2 separate regions of the Homo sapiens genome follow, and region 1 is linked to region 2. Evidence: promoter capture Hi-C in 16 types of primary human blood cells and fetal thymus (Javierre and others, 2016). All regions are on one chromosome and are shown on one strand. The core of a region is centred on a gene start or on the middle of the fragment in contact, and the rest is flanking DNA. Distances in the headings are between cores, read along the strand shown. Region 1 has its middle 190 kb from the start of PHLDA1-AS1. Region 2 holds the start of PHLDA1 (pleckstrin homology like domain family A member 1).

What was found. The method cuts DNA at HindIII sites, captures the fragments that hold promoters and counts their contacts. A CHiCAGO score of 5 or more calls a contact.
Region 1: a contact is called between a fragment that was not itself captured here and the fragment with the promoter of PHLDA1 in region 2, in 3 of 17 cell types (M0 macrophages, M2 macrophages and endothelial precursors). The highest score is 7.6, in M0 macrophages.

The regions. Positions count from the first base shown.
Region 1 is chr12:75,840,434-75,843,133 of GRCh38, forward strand. No RefSeq gene overlaps it. Among named protein-coding and RNA genes, the nearest start is that of PHLDA1-AS1, 190 kb to the right of the region's middle. The HindIII fragment of the contact is 1,747 bases long and covers 510-2,256 here.
Region 2 is chr12:76,030,526-76,033,225 of GRCh38, forward strand. It overlaps PHLDA1 (pleckstrin homology like domain family A member 1), which reads right to left and starts at 1,251. Exons shown (of 2, transcript NM_007350.3): 1 at 1-1,251. The coding sequence starts at 1,216. The coding sequence ends at 11. PHLDA1-AS1 (PHLDA1 antisense RNA 1) reads left to right here. Exons shown (of 2, transcript NR_186034.1): 1 at 1-69; 2 at 386-853. It overlaps PHLDA1-DT (PHLDA1 divergent transcript), which reads left to right and starts at 1,288. Exons shown (of 2, transcript NR_185978.1): 1 at 1,288-2,277. RefSeq lists a silencer at 787-936 and an enhancer at 1,157-1,406. The HindIII fragment of the contact is 8,299 bases long and covers 1-2,700 here.

The sequences.
Region 1 (2,700 bases), core at 133-2,632, 190 kb before region 2:
TCCAGCTGATAGTCCTGCCTGGACCTAGCCTTCATGTCATCCCCACCAGGGCACTCTAGATAATTCCACTCTCCAGTCATACCATTCTTCCCAGCTGAGGCCCCAAATATAATAGGGCAGCAACATAGTCATCACTACTTTGTACTGTTTGAATTTCTGATGCACATAATCTATCGGTAGAGTAAAATGGCTGTTGTTTTATACTTCTAAGTTTGGTATAGTTTGCTATATAGTGTAGGAAAACAGCTTATTGCATGGCAAGAGTAATGCCATCTTGAAGCAAAACCACCATAATGACTGATGTCTGACTCCTGCAGCAAGGTTAAGAAACACCTATAGTATAGATAACCCCTCATAAAGAAACAATGCCTGTAGCATAAATAACCCCTCATAAAGAAGCAATGCCTGTAGCATAGATAATCCCTCATAAAAACACTTAACTAACTTCCCCAGTGGTGAGTTTCACAAGAGGGTTGAAGACATGACCAGTTGCACATTTTACCAAAAAAAGCTTGCTAAATAAGGAATACTCTCTGGAGGGCAGGTATGGGGATCCACTGTCTAGAGGCCATCCCAAGACACGGCTTCTGTTCCTAAGTTTCTCTTAAACGTTCCTCTCAGAGAAACTGCATTTGTCAGTCTCTTTCTTCAGCCTCTCAACTCCCTCAGCCTTTGAGGTTAGGTTTGCATAGACCTGCTCACTGTGGAACATACAGCAACAGATAATCAGAACAGAACTGAGATAGTCAAAGCATCTCTGGCTATTGTTTATGAATGTAATGAGAGAAAGAAAGAGAAATAGTCCTCTGCCACTTTATGCTATATGTGTTATCTCATTTAATCCTCACAGAAGTTATGCAAATTTAGGATTATTTTTCCCACCATTTACGCTCTGAGAGGTTTAAAACAACTTGCCCAGGGATGAAACTAAAATCTGCACCTGGGACTATTTGACCCCATACATCTATCACATCTCACTTCTGCTCAATTGTCCAGAATCAGCTACATGTTCCCAGAAGTCACAGAACACTGTAAGTAAAACCAGCTTTTACATTCAATGAGTTGCTTTTTGAGCACCTCTCTCTGCCAGATATTGTGCTCAGTGCTCATATCAAGTGAGCAAAATAAGCTCATATTGGTCCCTTCCTCCAATCTTATGTCTGCTCTTGTTGACCCGTTTTTCCACATCAGAGGTAGTTTTTAAAATCCACATCTGTAAGATATTCCCCCTGCTTAAACTTTTGCAGGGGTTTCTCTCTAGCCCATGCCACAGCGATTCACAAACTTGATCCAATAACTGGTGCCAAGGCTGACTGCATGAAAATCAACCAAGGCATGCTATGGGCATAGAGATTCCCAGTCTTTGCTTGCAGAGATTCTGATTCAGGAAGCTCCCCAGTGGCTCCTGTGTGCAGCCATGTTGGCAAACGCTGGCCAAGAGGTTAACATCAAATTCTTCCACATGGCATATGAAGTCCAGCATAATCTGACCCCTACTCAACCCTCTAAACTCACCTTCTGCTACTCCTTCGCCTAACGCATCATTCCACAAACACATCTTTGAGGCCTCTTGGTCTCTGGATATTCTGTTCCTTACACAAGAAATGCATTTCCCTCACTGAACTGTTTGGTGAAATCATCTGCTCTTCCCTGAGCATTCCCTGGCTCCCCTTACAAACAGAGTCAATGTCCTTTCCCTGTATTTCCATTGCCCCTCATACCTATCTCCAGTCACTTAACTCAGGCTAAGTGATGTGCTGAAGCCAGGGACCCAGGCTTATTCACTTTAGAATCCCCAGGGTTAGCACAGTGCCCCATTTATCAAAGATAGTCAACAAACGTTTGCTGAATGAATAACCCAATGTGTTTCCTTTCAGCTCTAGCTGCCAAGAAATGCAGAGCCAAATTCAGTTACCAAGTATAGTAATTAGCTCATCCCAGGTGCCTGGTAACATCTGCTCCCTGCTTCTTTGAGATGGTCTCTGTTTTCTTTTTAGCCATAATTGTCCTATTTCACATTAGGTTTAATTTAGTATGTTCTTTCACATCCCTTTGAAAGAAGGTGGGATATAAGTTCTGAATAAATCAATAGATACAGAGTTCCTCAAAAGACACCTGCGTTGGCATAGCATAAGAGTAAGGGGAGAAAATTACTGGAAAATATGCTATGTTTCTCAAATCAAATGATTAATACTTCTTCATGTTTTCTTTAATGAATAAAAATAAATAACTGTGAGGAAATCCCACCCAGATGAAAGCTTATTCATTTAACAAATAGTTACTGAGCACCTACTTTGTATAAGGCATACTGGTGACATGAACAGCGAAGACATGATTAAGATCCTAGAAATCAAAGAGCTTACTGTGGGGTAGGTTAGAGGAGACCTGTATATAAACACAGTCTTGCAAATTATGAAGTGATCATGTCTATACTAAGAATGCAAGAAGAGAATGGATTTCTACCTGTTAGAGTCCAAGAAGGCTTCACTGAGGTCATACAGTCTGACCTGGGCCTTAAACGATGCATAAGATTTAGACATGTAAAAAAGCCTTGGTCTTAGAACGTCTGCCTCTGTCTAGCTTTTTTTACATAAGAATGTATGGCAGGCAAACTATGGGTTGGCTGGATGAGACTATCTAATACTTATCGAACTCTCATTTAATATAATTCCTGGAGTAATATATGCACCAGGCTTTATA
Region 2 (2,700 bases), core at 1-2,500:
GCTGCCCCTTTCAGGCAGAGTTGGAGGTGCTGCGGAGAAGCCGGTGCCCGTGCGGCTGCGAGTGCGGCTGTGGGTGTGGGTGCGGTATTTGGTGCGGATGCGGGTGCGGGTGAGGGTGTGGGTGCGAGTGAGGATGAGAGTGTGGATGTGGATGTGGATGCGGATACGGGTGGAGCTGCTGGGGCTGAGGCTTGGGTTGGGGCTGAGGCTGGGGTTGTGATTGGGGCTGGGGTTGCGGCTGAGGCTGAGGCTGGGGTTGGGGCTGGAGCTGCGGCTGCGGCTGCGGCTGCGAGGGGGGCTGCTGCTGGACCAGGTGCTGCTGCTTCTGCCGCGTGGATTTGACCGCCAGGATGGCCTGACGATTCTTGTACTGCACCATCTGCAGCGTGATCTCGGCGTTCCAGCCCTGGTCTTGCGGGCACCGAAAGTCGATCTCCTTGCCCTCTGCCATCACCACAGTGAAGTACATGTACTTGCCCTTGCGCTCCACACAGTCCACGGTCTTCATGTTGGAGAAGTGCAGTTCCTTGAGCTTGACCGGCGGCTCGAGGCTGGCGACAGCGGGGCCACTGGGTTGGGACGGCTCGGCCGGCCCCTGCCCGGGCTGTTGTTGCTGCTGCTGCTGCTGCTGTTGCTGCTGCTGCTGCTGGTGTTGCAGCTGCTTGGGCGGGATAAGCAGCAGCCCTTCCTCGGTGAGGATGCAACACTTTTTCTTCCAGAGCTGCAACAACCCGTCGCTGCGCTTCTCCAGCACGCCCTCCTTCAGCGCTTTGCAGCCGCTACTCTCCAGCATCCTCCCAGCATAAGAGGGGCCGCCGCTTGGCTCGGCCTCTCCGTTTCCAGCCGCGCGGGCCGGGGGCAGCAGCAGCAGCCTCGCGCCGTCCTCGCCCCAGCGGCTCCCACGGCCGCCTGCCCGGAGCGCGCAGAGGAGGCTAACACGCAGGAGGCAGAGCGGCGGCGGCGGCTCTGGGTCCCGGCAGAGGGACAGCCGCGTCCTGATGCGCCACAAGGTCCCGGAGCTCCGAGCTGCCGGGCCTCTGCCGTCCTCTTGCGAGCGCTCACTGAAGGGCACTGGCCGGGCCCCCTCGCGGCGCTTTTGAATGGGCCATCTTCCCCACCCCCGAGTGACACCCAGCGGAAAAGGCGGCTCCTGGCGCCCGCACCGCGGGGGAAAGCCCAGCTCCAAGAGGCGCTCGGCAGCCGGCGCACGCCTCATTAACTTGGGGCCTTTCCAAAGCCCGCTGCGTCCACGCCCTCCAGCGTCTCTTGCTCCGCCTCTCGCCGCCCACTTGCTTCCGCGCTCGTTCCCCTGGAAGGCGACCCGGACCCGAGCCCCGGAAACTCCTCTCCTCTACCCAGGGCGATCGCCCAAGGAGCCCTGGCTGCCTGACTACTGCCGACGCTCACAGGGCGCTGCGAGGCCATCCCCCGCGTCCCGCTTCTCCCCGGCCCGCGGGACTCTCTGCTAACAGCCTCAGAAAGTGAGGACGGGGGCGCGGAGGCGGGGGCAGCCTCCAGGCAGTGCTGCCTCTCGGTTCTTGGGAATTAGCCCGGGGGATTCGCGCTGGGCTCCGAGAGCCCGCAGAACCAGCGTCGTGTCCTGGGCGAGCTGGGAGGCCGGGGCCGAGTCCCGCGAGTCCCGCGAGTGTGCCTCCCCCGGACGCCTAGGTAAACAACTGAGCGCACAGAGGCCGAGAGGACATCGTGTCTTCCCACGCATATTCGCTCACGGTCACTAAGTAGCTCTTCTTGGAAAGAGGGCGATTGTTAAAGCAATAGTGCGACTGTCGGGCTTGCCACGGGTGGAGAGAGGCGGACCCACGTCAGGTCGCATCTCGCCTGCTTTTCTCGACCCCGACCGCAGGCGCTAACCCGTCTTCGGCTTTCTTCTTGACCCGTACGGTTTGCAACGTCTCTTAAAACAGTAACTCAACTCTCTACAAACCGGGGTAATATCCGGTGCTGAGATCCCACACTGCAAGGCGCAGTTCCAAACGTCTGGTCGGCCTCGCAGGTCCCTCTTTCCAAGGCCTAGCCAGATCTTGGTTTTGGAATCTCATTTATCTGTGACCTGGGGAATGCAATACCCCCAGCTCCCTCCTACTCCTACATTTAAACAATGCCTATAGAAGCCGCTTCCTGGGAAGTAAGGCATAACCGAGACCTAGCCTCCCGGTAGGGAAGTTCATCCGTTTAGTAAACAGCCCCAACTACGTGCGGACCCTCACGGGGATACGAAGAATTCAACCAGGGCTGGACAAGTCAGAGTGGGCCAAGGTAAGAGTTACGGCTGCTACTGTGCCCACGTTGGAACAGATAGATTAGTTCATCTGCTAGTTGTGTGGCAAGAGCAAAGAATTCAAGAGGGGAAGAGAAAGTGAGAGGAGCTTAGAGAGCTAAGCAAGAATCGAATCCTTTGTGTGTCATGGTAAGAAATTCGAACTTAATACCAAGGTAGTCAGAACAAAGGACAACTTTTATACACGAGGGCGTCCTGAATATTCATCTAAGAAACAATGTCTGATCAAACGGGACAATCCAGCCAGCAATCCTGAGTCCCACCGGATTATGCTTGGCCAGCTTTCTAGCCTTCACATTGTTAATTTATTAGCAATCTTTTCAGGAGAAAGGCAATTATTAAAATTATGTGGACTTCTAGTAAAATTATCTCGAAGATTTACAATTATGTATACCAATAAC